Regions from separate parts of the Homo sapiens genome. Here region 2 is linked to region 1. Evidence: promoter capture Hi-C in 16 types of primary human blood cells and fetal thymus (Javierre and others, 2016). All regions are on one chromosome and are shown on one strand. Each heading gives the region's core, a stretch centred on a gene start or on the middle of the fragment in contact. The rest is flanking DNA. Distances are from core to core; before and after follow the strand shown.

Region 1 (7,042 bases), core at 574-3,073:
GCACAGTCATTTAAACTTGATCCAACCTCTTTGCATCTTACAAAGTTAAACAGCTAAAAGAAGTAAAATAAGAAGGCAATGCTTGTGGAATGTACAGTGCATATTGGCGGCGCACGCCTCATTACGATTCGCCTGCTTGCTTCTCCTGTTCAATCGCTGTGACCAGAAAAAAAAAAAAAAAAAAGATGGAGGGAGATGATTAAAGGATTCAGTACAGACTAAAGGGCTTTCATTTAAAGCATCTTTTCAAATCATAAACATTCTACACGGTATTCCACAATGGAATAAAATATGTATATTGAATATACTAAATAGAAATACATTTTAATGGATAAATGTTTGTATATTAATATGGCATATTAAATATTCCATTACTAAATTACTAAAGCCCCGTGTTTGTTGGCTGCAAAACCATTTTTAATTAACCTTTGCAAGCCACATTCATCAACTGTCGGCTCTTCCCCCGCACTCCCCCCTCCCGAATTCTTCCCGCGGCCGCTCCCAGCCTCCCGCCCTCCCACCGGCCGCTCCCACCCAGCCTTTCTAAAGATGGGGGTGGGTCGGAGCTCACTTTCTTTGGAAGGCAGTGGATTTTTCTCTTGCGTCTCTGTCTTCTTCAGTTTCGACTTATCGAATTTCTCGATCTCAGCCATATCGGGTTTGTCAGACATGGTTGCGGAGGAAAAGCTGCAGGGAGCAAGCCAAGAGCGAGCGTGAGGAAGAGCCACCCGCCCCGCTGTCTCTGGGCTGGGAACTGCACTTCTGCCCTCCGACCCGCAGCCTGAAAAAAACCCTTCTCGCTCTCCTACTGCTGCCGTTCCGCGCTCACGAGCTTCCTCTTTCTACAGAAAAAGAGGCGACACCCCCCGCGCCCCTCCTCCCCATATTTCAAAACGCTGTGGACCAAAGAGGGCGGATGCCTCTCAAAGCCGAATCTTGCAGAATAAAGGAAATTGACCACTGCGAATTGTTAATTACAGCGTTTAAAATTAAAGGCTGGCTAGGACAAGGAAAGAAGAGGAAAGCCACTTCCAAATTCAAGTGGGAAAAATCGGCAAGAATTCCTAAAATGGAGCCCAGGTAGGAAAAGCGTTTCCATTTCCTAGCCGCGGCCTCTCCGCAAGGATGCGGGCCGGATCCGGCTTTCTAGTCCTCTCACAAAGGCGGCGGCCGCGGCTGGAGCTTCCGACCACCGCCCTACCGGCTTCATCGCCCGCGTCACAATGCAGCCCCGCACACAAAGCGGCCGCCGCGCGCCCCGAAGCCGGTCTTGCCTGCTCTCCCGGCAATTCGGCATCCCTGGCACACATGTCTCTGCAAGAAGGACTGTAAAGATGTCATAGCACAGCCCCGCCGCCGCCAGGCTGCACAGATGCAGCCCGCGCAGCCGTCCGAGGCTGGGAGGAGGCTCGGGGCTCGGAAGATGAACCTCAGAACAAAGGACTTGTCTATTCCCCCATATCTCAGCCTCCAAGGCAACGCACAATACCTTTGCGGGCAAACACTAAGAAATTTTTTAATGTCCCCTCCGAGCGGCACGGCAAAACGCCAGTTTTTCGGTTTTGTTCTTAAATCATCGATTTCCCCACCCCATTATCCAGTATCTAGGGTGTTTCGCATCCCCCCAGCTCCCCAAAGTAGCCTTCCCGGGGAGAACCACTCGGGCTCGGATTTAGGGAATGCCTTCACAGGGACGCGGATGATGAAAGGGCGGGGACGGAGGCAGGACGGCAGGAGGAAGGAGGCAGGGGCCCTGGGGCTCACCGAAGCGAGGCGCACGAGTACGAGCGAAGTCTGGTCTGCGCAGTGGCCACCACCGAGTTGTCGGGCGGGGTGCGGCGGGCGCAGCTTTATGGGCGCTCCTATGTAAATGAGGTGATGTCACCCGCCGGCCCGCTTAACTCCTTCGCGCCGCGTCTCGGAACGGCATCCGGAGGCCTGCCGGGCTTTTGGGGAGGGGAGCCCCACCCCCACCCGGGGTCCACTAGTGCATGCACCCTAACCACAACGATGGCGAAAAAAATGAGCAAAGCACCCTCCAACACTTCATAACACATTTTCCCCTTTTACGTTTATTTCATTACGATGAATTTTTGCAACAGCAGCGCAGAAATTGCTCTTGGGGACCAGTGCATAATAACTAAGGGTCGGGGTGGCACCTGGGGTGACAGGCATTCTTTTATTTCGAAACTGCCTTTGTCTACTGTGGACATCTCCACACAAGGGCGCGGTGTCCCTCCCTGGAGGGCCTGGCCCGCTGCAGGGGTACGATTCCTGTGACTCAGCTTTCAGTCCAGTGGCGGGCATGCGCCCCACCCCGGGCCTCTTTGTCTTCCTCGCTGGCGTTCCTCTTGCCTTGGGTGGGACGTAAAGCACCCTTAAGTGATTTTAAAAGAGAAAGTTTCATCACTGAAACATCCATATTGTTTCATCAGCATAATTTTTGTGAGCACTCAACAGTAGTATTTGCTGGGTGTAAGGTAATTTGGAGTTTATAGGGTAAAACACCTCCCTCTTAGCAAAATAAGTCAAGCTCAAGCTCTGCCATTGACTTTACTGCCGGACAATGAGGAAGTTCTTTACCTTCCTCTTCCTTATTTTCATAAATTTTAAAAGTGATGGCTAAGGAGGCCAGCGTTGAATTCCAAAGACTACAGTTACATTATCTCTAATGTCTTAAGATGAAATTCAAAAATCAAATTATATTTTCAAGGGAGCGTTTCCAGCACTAGGACATCGCTGAAGTGCATCTGCATCTGGAAATATAAGAGATTCGGGTAGAGGGAAGCAGTTTTCAAAATGGCACCTGACTCTGTGAATACCAGTGACCCACTTGCTACTGAAAATTAGTTACAAATACCATGCCACGCGCCTGCAAATGGCGTGTGAAAGGAAAAAGACTCGCCGGTTATAAAGAGGCCTAGCTGTGATTATTTCTAAGAGACAAGGCAGTGTGCAAAATATTCCTTCTCCTTTTCCGTGGCCTGGGGAAATGTTTTTAGAAACCCCTTGCTAATCATTTTTATGGCACAGGCTTTTGTCTCGCTGGGGATTAGAGTCAACCTTATATATAGACCCTTGAATGCCACTGCCAGCAGCTTGGACTTCCCCGTTTCTCCATCTACTTGACTTCCTTTTTCCTGGGGAGGAAGGAGGTGGGGGTGAGCAGGGGCAGGTGACCGTCTGGTCCCCTAGTTAATGCTCTGCTGGGTGGCTGCCTTCCTGGCCTCCGAATGGGGCACTGGACCTGTTCGTGCATGCACCAAATGTCACCTGTCTGGTAACAGCCCCCCCGCCCCTGTTCCATGTTGGGAGTCTACTTCATCGTTGAAACACAGAAAAGATCTTGCAGGGTGCCTTTTCGCCCGTTTAGCTGGCAGCTGCCGTTGTACCGACACCGTTTCCGCAGGTTCTGTGATTCTGTTTCCCCTCACCCAGCTGCTGTCGAAAATCATTTCTTTCCTCCCAATGTCTCCTGATGACAAAGGAGTGCCACTACCTTCTCCTGGCTTCTTCTCCCAAGGGCCTTTCCTCAGAAAGGGTTAGGCCTCACTGAAGCAATTCTCCAAAGGAGATGGACGAATGCAAACTTGGAAATGTCTGGAGAAGTTTTCCAGTGCGGTAGCAAGCAGCCTTCCACTGTGCTGAGACACTGATGGAGGGCAGGTGGAAACAGAGAGGAAGAGAAAGAGAGACGACTGCTTAAAGGAAAAGAGTTCCCATGATTGGGACTGACCTGCCAACCGGTCAGGAGACCTAGAGAGACAGGAAAGGGAAGGGTGGTGCAGATACAAGGAAATGCAAACCAAAGGAATATTCTTAAAAGTTGCATGACTCTGGCCATGTGAATGAATCTTTCTGTGCTGGAGTTTTCTCATCTGTAAAATGGGTTCATTGCAACACCGACCTCACAGGGTTGTTGGGAGGAGTAAATGCTTCGGACAGTGCATGACAATTAGTAAGCTCTTTCTATTGTTATTATTCGTATGATTTAGGATGGAAGGTTGAGGAAAAATAATAAAATAATTGTCTTAGTGTTTAGAATTAATTAAAAATTTTAGGTGTCTTGATATTATTTCTCCTATAGAGACATTTATATATTATTATATATTATTTCTATATAATTAATACATATGAATATATATTATTATTTTCACTTACAAAATGTTGATAGAAGATCTTTTGGTAGTTTTACAGCAAATAAAACATGACAACTCCTGTCGGTTGATATTTTCTAAGAGTCAGGCATTGTAACGTAAGTTTTACATTTGTTTTTTCCTTTCTTTCCCACCGCCTTTCCATAAGAAATTTCCAGATGGGGAAACTGAGGCTTAGAGAGCCATCATTGGGTTACCTCAGCTGGTAGCCACTCTGTTATATATGCCAAGAGCATGTAAAAGTCCTCCCCACATCCTCTTAGTCTGTACCCGAGAATCACCAGGAAGAGTGTGAGGAGCTAGGCAGTTGTGCTTTCCACAGCGTCTGGTGGATAGTAATTGCTCAATAACAGTTCTCCCACTGCATTGAATTGATTTTCTTTTCTTTTCTTTTTTTGAGACAGTCTCGCTCTGTCACCCAGGCTGGAGTGCAGTGATGTGATCTCGGCTCACTGCAACCTCCACCTCCCGGATTCAAGCCATTCTCTGCCTCAGCCTTCCATGAATTGATTTTCTTAAATGAGGGAGGTACTTGAACTCAGGTGTTGAACCTGTGACTCTAATTGTCTTGCTTTCTTCTCCCCAGATAATTAAATCCATTTAGTCTTAATGTTCTAGATGTCAGAATGTTCCAGGATCATCCCTGCCCCAGGCAGCTACATTTATAAGTCTGTTAGTATGTGCCGGGCACAACTACCATTGAGGTAGCAGTTTTCGATCCCAATTAAAAAGACAGAGGCACACAGGGGCAAAGGAACTGCTTACAATGGGTGCAGACATTGTTCCCAGTGAGACCCCCCCCCAAAAAAAAAGGCCTTGGGTGACTCCGGGTTGTATGGTGCACTCTGGCCTTGGGGCTCTCTGGTGAAAGATAAGTAGAGTCCACTTTGCGCCTGTCCTGCCTTCCTCATCTCACGGGCCACAGCGCCCAATGAAAAATGTGCCAACATTGCCTGCGTTGAAGGGCGGTTCCCCTCCAACCCTGTGTCTGGTGGAACCCGGAAAAGGTGGCAGGGGACGCAGTTTTATTTTGCTTTCCAGGGCGGGCCTGGGATAGAGTCGTGGCTATTTCTAACCATGGAGAAGTTGGCTAGAAGTCTGAATTCATGAAAATGAGTTCTATTAGTTTGAACCTATTTAATTTTGTGCCAAAAACTTACCAGAAGAAGAGAAGAAGGAAGAGGAGGGAGGAACGGAAGAACAGGAACAAAGCTGAGCTCCCAGCTCTTGCTTTCTCAAGCCCAGATCCCTTTGTCTGAGTTTCAGGGCCTCCTACCATCTGCCCCACCTGCCTGCACCCCACGTTCCCCTGTGGCCCCTGCAGTCTCCATCTGGTCTCCCTCACAGCAGAGCCCTCCTTCCACTGATTGGAATCTAAAACCCCTTAAAGACACAGCCTAAGTCCCCCCTGTGAATAACAGGAAAATGAAAAGAGAAAGGATATTTAGTAGACTAGCTATATCTTGTAACCTCAGCTATAAGCCCTTTTAAACAATATCTGATTCCATTCTTACCCTATGGAGTGAGTACTAATATCCCCATTTTACTACTAAAGAAATTGAGGCTCCGAGAATTTAAGCAATTTGCTCTTAATCAAATGCCCAGGTCTGTCTACCAAGTCTTTCCACCGAGGCCTATCTCTGCCTTATCTTTAGTTGAAGTATCTTTCTCCAGGACTCCCACCCAGAGCGGACCCACATGGTGCAAAGAGGAAGGCGAGCAGGGGGTGGCAGGAAAGCAAAGAGGAGTGAAAGAACACCCTCGCCTGTGCTCAGTGCTGAGTGCCGTGCTGCTAATTGTCCTGTTTGCTTTATTGATCCGATGGAAACTTTAGAGCCAAAAGAAATGTAAAAGGGGATCTCATTCAACCCAGTTTCCCTTCTGTGGCTTGAATTTTCCTCTACAACATCCCCTCCAAGTGGTTACTCAGCCTCCACACAGCCAGGGAACAATACGGAAGCAGAGAATCTTCGAGTTAACGCAGGGGGCAATGAGTAGCTTAGCTTGGCAGGCACTTGCGTAAAATGAGAGAAAGTGACAGGAAATAACGCTGGGAACCAGGCAGGGGCCAGGTTGTAGAATAATGATAGTAACAATCATGGCTGTACCCATAGCAGTAATAACAGCAAGTGCTTTCTGAGTGCTTTCCATATACTGGGAAGCTTTCCATGTAGTATTTCCCGAATCCTCACACAATCCTATGACAGTGGCACCATTATTCTCCTCATTTTGCAGATGAGAGAATTCTAGAGGGATTAAATAACTTCCCCAAGAAAACACAACGAAAGCCAAAGGCAGGATTTGAACTCAGACTGGCTGGCTCAGAAGCCGCCTCATTTAAACACTACTCTTCTCTAGAATCCTAAGGCCTTTTAAAGGCTTTGTTCCATACGCCAGATAAGGGTAAAGTTATATTCTGTCTCAATCAGCTGTCTAGCTTTTTCATCATGTAGATGTTTTTTCTCTTTTTTTCTTTTTTTTTTTTAAGAAACAGGTTCTCTCTATGTTGCCCAGGCTGGTCTCAAGTTCCTGGGCTCAAGCAATCCTTCCACCTCGGCCTCCCAAAGTGCTGGGATTACAGGCGTGAGCCACCGCACCCAGCCTACATCATGAAGACATTTAAACATAGATATCGTAATAATGTCATATACATTAAAATTTTCCCTGCCCCAATTTTCAAATTATTTCATTACAGAAATTCAATCTGCTCTTTTTCCTCCTCCTGCATGGCCAAGGCACTGGCAATAAAGAGAATTTGTATCCTGAACGTTAGTAGTTTTCCTCAGCTTTTCACTACTTAAATATTTTTCTTTTTCTTTTTCTTTTCTTTTTTTTTTTTTTTGAGTCGGAGTCTTGCTCTGTCACCAGGCTGGAGTGCAGTGGTG
Region 2 (7,042 bases), core at 1,982-4,481, 1.0 Mb before region 1:
CTTCTTCCCCAAAGCTCTTACGATAATGAGGCTGCGTATCCTCAGTCCTTCTATGACCATCATGTGGCCTGGCAGGACTACCCCTGCAGTTCTTCACATTTCAGAAGATCTGGGCAGCATCCACGTTACAGCAGTAGGATCCAGGCATCCACAAAAGAAGACCAAGCTTTGTCCAAAGAGGAAGAGATGGAGACTGAGTCAGATGCAGAGGTAGAATGTGACCTGAGCAATATGGAAATCACTGAAGAGCTCCGCCAGTACTTTGCAGAGACCGAGAGGCATAGAGAAGAACGACGTAAGTTCAGGCCTCTGTCTCTTCATGCTTCCTTTCCTTGCCCTGCCTTTTACATTTTTTTTCTCTAATATATAAAGTAATTTTATAATTCTTCATTGGCTAGGGTAATATTCCAAATCCAGTCCTAAGCCTGGAAAAGCTATGGGGATGCTGTACCTTGCTTATGTTAGTTTCTGGAGTTGTTTTAGTATAAGACATTTTTTTGTTCCAGAACAAAGCTTATCCTAATAGTAGTTCTACTATTTATTAACCATTAGACACTCTACCAAATGGAGTGTGTATGCATGCATGCTTGTGTGTGTGCGTGCTCTGATCTACACAGCAGTCCCTCAGAGTATTAAACTCATTTTATATATGAGGAAAGTGAACCTTAAAAAGGTTAATTGACTTGTTCCGTGGTACACAACTAGTAATTTGCTGTTAGGATCCAAACCAAATCTGCCTACCTCTACTTCCTGTACTGCTTTCTGTATACTAGGACTTGTCCCTGAGACTGCTAGGTTCCTAAAATACTTTTGCCATTCCTCTGGGACACATCTTGGAGATGTCCTTGGTGCTAGAGGTCCCAAATCTTAAATAGCATGAACCTAAACAGAGTAACGAAATGCCTGGCACTTACAACTTTCCTGTTGGTTCTGCATTGAGGCCCTGTCCATGGGGTCAGAGAATTATGATAAAGGTCTTATATCTTCAGTCAAAAACAGGAATTTTCTTTTTAAATTTCTTACCACCTTACTAGAAAGAACTAGAACAGCTTTTGTGCTCTCCTATTAAAATTCACCAGACCATTTCTAAGTACCTCTAACTGAGATACAAATGCTTCTTTCCCTATTATAACCAGTATTCATTCTCAATTTTGTTTTAAGTGAGGCCTAATTGTATGACATTTTACCTACAATTTTCCAATGACACAGAAGCGTAGAAACCTGGGAATGGGAGTTTCATTCCTGTCTGTCATTGTCAGCATTTTCCTAATGATGAATTAGCTTTTATTGATCCCCACTGGATGCCAAGAACTGAGCACTGGGCTTTGTATAAAATATTATATCCTTTAGTATCTTCGTCCGTGATTCTTCACTAAACTACTTGTTCAGATTTTTTTGACTTCCTTTCTTTTGTTTAAACTGTGTACTTCTTTAAGCATATTAGAAAGTATATCCAGCCAGGTGTGGTGGCTCACACCTGTAGTCCCAGCAACTCGGGAGGATGGCTTGAGCCCAGGAGTTTGAGGCTGCAGTGAGCCACGATCACACCACTGTACTCCAGCCTGGGTGACAGAGCGAGACCCTGGCTCAAAAAAAAAAAAAAAAAGAAAAGAAAAGAAAGAAAAGAAAAAGAAAAGAAAGAAAGAAGTATATCCAAACAAATACTTTTAAGACAGTACTTTCTATTACACACAGAATACTTTTGCTTGATCTCCAGAAATAAATTTTACCCTTTTTAAAAATATAGATACGAAACAACCATTAGTCTAATATATACAACAAATGAGAAGCATTGGAGCATGTCCATGTTTGGGTTGGAATGCTGTTTGTTACAGCTTTTGACAGAGAAAATGGGATGGAGATCGAGTTTATTACTCTTGTCCTTACCAGAAAGTAGAATAACATGTTTTGCCCACTAGAGGTTGATACTTTTATGATGGAAATTGTAATTATGGATGGAAGCAAATCCCAGTCATCTCAAAGGTGACTTTGAATTATCTGCTGGTTTAAAATAAACTTGAGTTAGTCAATAAAAAGTGGATATGAATAAAATAAAGATAAAACAATGAAATGTGTCCTTGCACCAAAGAAAAAATGTGAACGGTTCAGTTACAGATATTGTTAACAACCATCCCTATTCCTCCCTCTTGCCATTGTTAGGTAGAACTCTAGGTAGGTAAACAAAATCATGAAAATTACCTGCTAAGTCATACTTGCCACTTAATATTATTTTGAGTGAATAAATGAAGTCTTTCAGTGTGAATTAGAAGCCTTAAATCAGAGGTTGGCAAATCTTACCCATAGAGTGCTACACTTGCAGTGATTCTGTGGGACATTTTACAGAATGAGCTAGGCCTTGTGTGCATTATAAACTTGATAAGCTTCATCTCTGTGTTTCATATTATTTCCAAATCTGTCTAGTTACTTTACGGCTCCAAATTGCACTTTCATCATCTGGGTTGAATTGTATCTCCCCAAGAAAGATACAGTGGAATCCTAACCCCCAGTTCCTCAGAATGTGACCTTATTTAAAGACAGGGTCTTTCCAGAGGTAATTGAGGTTAAGTGAGGTCATTACAGGGATCCTAATCCTATGTGACTCAGGTCCTTATAAAAAGGGCAAAATCCGGACACAGAGACAGACACACATGCAGTGAAAACACCATGTGAAGATTGACATTATGTCGCCACAATCCAAGGAACATCCAGAAGGTGGGAGAGGCCTGGAACAGATCCTTCCCTAGCACCTTTAGAGGGTTTATGGCCCTGCCAACACCTCGATTGCAGACTTCTGACCTCCAGAGCCATGAGACAATACATTTCTGTTGTTTTAAACCACCCAGTATATGGTACTTTGTTATGGCAGCCCTAGGAAAGGAGTACAATCACCCTGGGAGAATTTTCTTTGTCCCCAAATGCAATCTGTGACTGGGACATAAAGTAAACCCACAGTTCTTGTCATCTGTCTGAAAAAACTGTATTACTTATTTGTTTTACTGTGATCTAGATAGCAAACCATCATAAAAGGGAATTTTATGAAAACCCTTGCAACTTCCATCTTGAACCTCATTTTCCAGTATTCATATTATTGCTGGCAACAGTGTATGGAGGCAGCTGTGGCAGAACTGCTTGAATCACAGAGGTCCAGCCTCACTCTACCACTCGCTGATTAGAGGTTCTCGTCCTCCTGTAAGCCCCCTGCCTTCACCATTCTTTGCCTCAGTTGCCTCACCTATGAAATAGGATCCTAATTAGTGGGTAGTAATTATGAAGAATCCCTAATGGGTAGTAATTGTGAAGAATCCATGAGATAATATGAGAAAAGTTATAGAATGGTGCTTGGTACCAAGTTGGTGCCCAATAAATGTTATTGTTACAGTTAGTTGCTAGTAACCCATCCTTTAACATGGATTATTAACCATAAATTGGTTTTTCTCTGATACCGTTTGCCTTGATTAGTGCTTGATTGAGATTCTGTACATATATATATATATATATATATATATTTTTTTTTTTTTTTTTTTTTTTGAGACAGATTCTTACTCTGTCACCCAGGCTAGAGTACAGTGGCGCCATCTCAGCTCACTACAACCTATGCCTCCCGGGTTCAAGTGATTCTCCTGCCTCGGCCTCCCAAGTAGCTGGGATTTCAGGCGCCAACCACCACACCCAGCTAATTTTTTTATTAGTAGTAGAGATGGTGTTTCACCATGTTGTCCAGAGTGGTCTTGAACTCCTGACCTCAGGTGATCCACCTGCCTCGGCCTCCCAAAGTGCTGGATTATAGGCATGAGCTACCGCGCCCAGCTAAGATTCTGCATATTTTTAATAAGATGTTCTGTGACTTCAGAAAGGTCATATTTCTGCTCTGGGTGGCACCTTTCAAACTTTTAAACTGATTTAGAATATTAAAGACATGAAAGAATGAAAGTTTTGGTGTCTATCAAATTTAGCAATTAACACAGTTTTTAGTTCTGTTTCAAGGATATTCTTGCTTGATAAAATTTAATGCAGTAAAGTACATGGACTGGGAAAATTAACCCACTTCAATATTACTAATAATGTCCCTAAACAAGCTTTCAATTCTTTGTATTTTTAAAATGTGTAGTTACAGCATGATTCAAAACTACTTTTCTTAGCGTCTGTGTCATGCTCCTACAGCCTTCCCTGAATGCATTAGCTGGTCCCAGGGAGATGTGAGAATTGTCTGGTGAGGGTGAGAACAGACTGTGGTGTCAGACTGGAATCTAAAGACTTCGTCTATATTAGAAGCAGCTGCCAGGGCCCGATCTTGCACCAGTAAGAAAATAATGGGCAATAGATCACTAGCATTATTTTTTTCAGCAGCACTTTTGGTGAGTACAGGATGAACAACTGTTCTTCAAGCGGTAATGAATGATGGAATTCATATGTAAGTAATCTGAGTGCCCATGGCGCTTTCCAATTCATTACCTTCACCAGAAATTTTCATGGAGGGTTAGTTACATACACTGTTGGAAAAAGCTTTAATAAAGAGATAAGGGACCTGGGTAGTATGAATAATTGGTTCAAGTTTTTTGTTTCATTTTGCTCTCAAAACCACTAGAAGCTACTTATTCAATAAGGACATTTTCAGCTTTGAACATGAATGCTTTGAAGAACACAGGATTTTAGAAAATGTTACTAGCAAGAGGAAATGTCACTAAATTTGAAAGATTTAACTTTTCAGTATTATTCACTTCCACAGGAACATACAAGTTATGCAATTCATCATCGCCTGAGTCTTGTTTAATATTTTCTTAGGATAAAGGCCTTCAGATTGGACAGTATGTTCTTTTTTGTGATTGCTACTCAGATTCCAGATAGTCTCTACTTTAACATATTTCAAGGATAAAAAACACCAAAAGCTTGACTAGGATAAGAACTCCTTTTGTACAGTGGGAACATGCATGCTTTTGATTATGTCTGTCATCATTTCCTAACAAGATATTTCCGTTACTTAAAGCTTCAATGGAAAATAACTTATGAGAAAGTTTACAGTTATGAAGTTTTAAAGGTCAGCTGTGTTTTCAATTATTTCTTAGGAAAAATGTTTATTATTAGGTTAAGAAAAATACCATTTTGTAGTCATAAGTGACCACTGGTCGAGACTGCAAGGTTATATTGCTAATACTTAGAGGGAAAATGAGTGGAAGTCACCCTCAAAAGAGAGTAAGGCCCTCTGAAACAAACACCACCACTGTTTTCTCGGGTTTGAGCCAATCAGGTATTTATGACCTATGTTTTGAGGGTGTTGGCTCAAAACAGGGACATATTCTAAAAGCTTAAACCCCATTGGGAAGAGGAGACAAAATGAAATGTAAAGTGACACATAGAAGAAGAGTGTCTATGGTGTGGTTCATGGTTATACATGCACATGAGGGGTAGAGCCAGTGACCCAGGCAGTCAAAGGAGGAGCACCGCGGGGCAGCTGTCAAGAAGTAAGGTATGCACTAGGCCAATTTGAGGGATAGGGTCAATTTGGAATGAGAGAAAAAAGGACTTAGTTCACTCCCGGCTTAGACACTCAAAGTGCTGTTCTTACCAGAGAGCCCAGATGTGGTTTTCATATGCCCAGATGTGGTTTTCATACGTTTGAGGGGAGACATCTGCTCCATTACACTGTGTCCATCTGAGTGGGAAGGCTGAGACTGTAGTTTTCATAGTGAGCCTTTAGTCAGTCAAACCTAGAGAGAACCCGGTGAAGTTTATGGCCCAGTATTTAGTGAGCTGTCTTGCTTTAGTCAATGAGGTTGAAGGATGAAATTGCAGTGATTGAGCACAATCCTGACATGCGTGTGTGTTTCATCTGGTGCAGATATTCACAGGTGCACAAAACCGATCAGTGAGATGATACGTGTTAATGGCTGTAGAAAAGTGGAAAGGAACATGAAAATGCACTTCTGTTGTAAAAGTAAAAATGGCGGTTGTCCAGTAACTTCAGGATTACATTTGTCATGGGGCAAGGGATGTGCGACGAAGAGAGAAGACCAGTCTGAAATGGCTCCAGTTCTGCTGGCATGTACCTGTGTTCTGGGTGGTTGCTGACAAGCCAGAAATGAGGCATTCATGGCATACATCAAGTTTGTGCTTTCCCTCGGTTGTGCTACAATTATTCATTTTGGCAAAATAGCAGAAAATATAATCAGAAAGATGTACTAGTCCTAGGAAAGTGAGGGGAAAAAACATTCTTTGCCACTTGCTGCCTCCATGCTTTATCCTCTAACATGTTCTGCCTTTGGGCTCTATGTGTGGAATAATCTTGGATGAAAGTTTTCCTGCTATATAAGATTCTCTGAAGTCCTGGTAACTTTCCATGATTTTTTTTTTCCTTTATGGACTATTACGTGATGTGACATTGGTCACATCATGTAGACAAATAGATTGATGTGAAAAATACCAGGATTATGTATCCTGAACCCAGATGGAATCCAGTAAAGCTTTTCCTTAATAATACATGCCTATTGTTCTTGTTTTAACCTATATGCATATTAACCCTTGTATTAGCCTCCCAGGGCTGCTGTAACAAATTACACAACCTGGGTGGATTAAAAAAAAAAAAAAAACAGATTTATTCTCTCACAGTTCTCAAATCAAGCGGTCAACAGGACCACACGCCCTCTGAAGGCTGTAGGGCCTCACCTCTTCCAACTTCTGGTGTTTCCTGGTGTTCCTTGGCTTGTGGCAGCATCATTCCATCTCTGCCTCCATCTTCATGTGGCCTTTCCCCTGTGTCTGTGTGTCCTTTTCTGTCTCATACAAGGACTTTGTCATTGGAGTTAGGGTCCACCCTAATCCAGTATGATCTCATCTTGATCCTTTAATTACATCTACAAAGCCCTATTTCCAAATAAGGTCACCTTCTGTGGTTCCAGGTGGACATGGATTTGAAGTGACACTATTCAACCCACTACAATCCTATTTTGAAGCTGGAATAGAATCAAAAAAGATTTCTGATTCATATTAAAACAAATTATCTTGCCAAAATACCCTATAAAAGTGTATGGCAACATTGAGTCCTACA

Evidence for each region. Contacts are between HindIII fragments. The CHiCAGO score rates a contact against its expected background, and 5 or more counts as called.
Region 2: a fragment that was not itself captured here is called in contact with the fragment with the promoter of TMSB4X in region 1 in 1 of 17 cell types (monocytes); the score reaches 5.5 in monocytes.

The regions. Positions count from the first base shown.
Region 1 is chrX:12,969,891-12,976,932 of GRCh38, reverse strand. It overlaps TMSB4X (thymosin beta 4 X-linked), which reads right to left and starts at 1,823. Exons shown (of 3, transcript NM_021109.4): 1 at 1,765-1,823; 2 at 572-687; 3 at 1-156. The coding sequence starts at 671. The coding sequence ends at 122. RefSeq lists enhancers at 266-1,104, 1,944-2,783, 2,907-3,026, 3,047-3,306, 3,317-3,386. The HindIII fragment of the contact is 8,223 bases long and covers 1-6,321 here.
Region 2 is chrX:14,013,331-14,020,372 of GRCh38, reverse strand. GEMIN8 (gem nuclear organelle associated protein 8) reads left to right here. Exons shown (of 5, transcript NM_001042479.2): 4 at 1-295. Among named protein-coding and RNA genes, the nearest start is that of GEMIN8, 13 kb to the left of the region's middle. The HindIII fragment of the contact is 1,695 bases long and covers 2,384-4,078 here.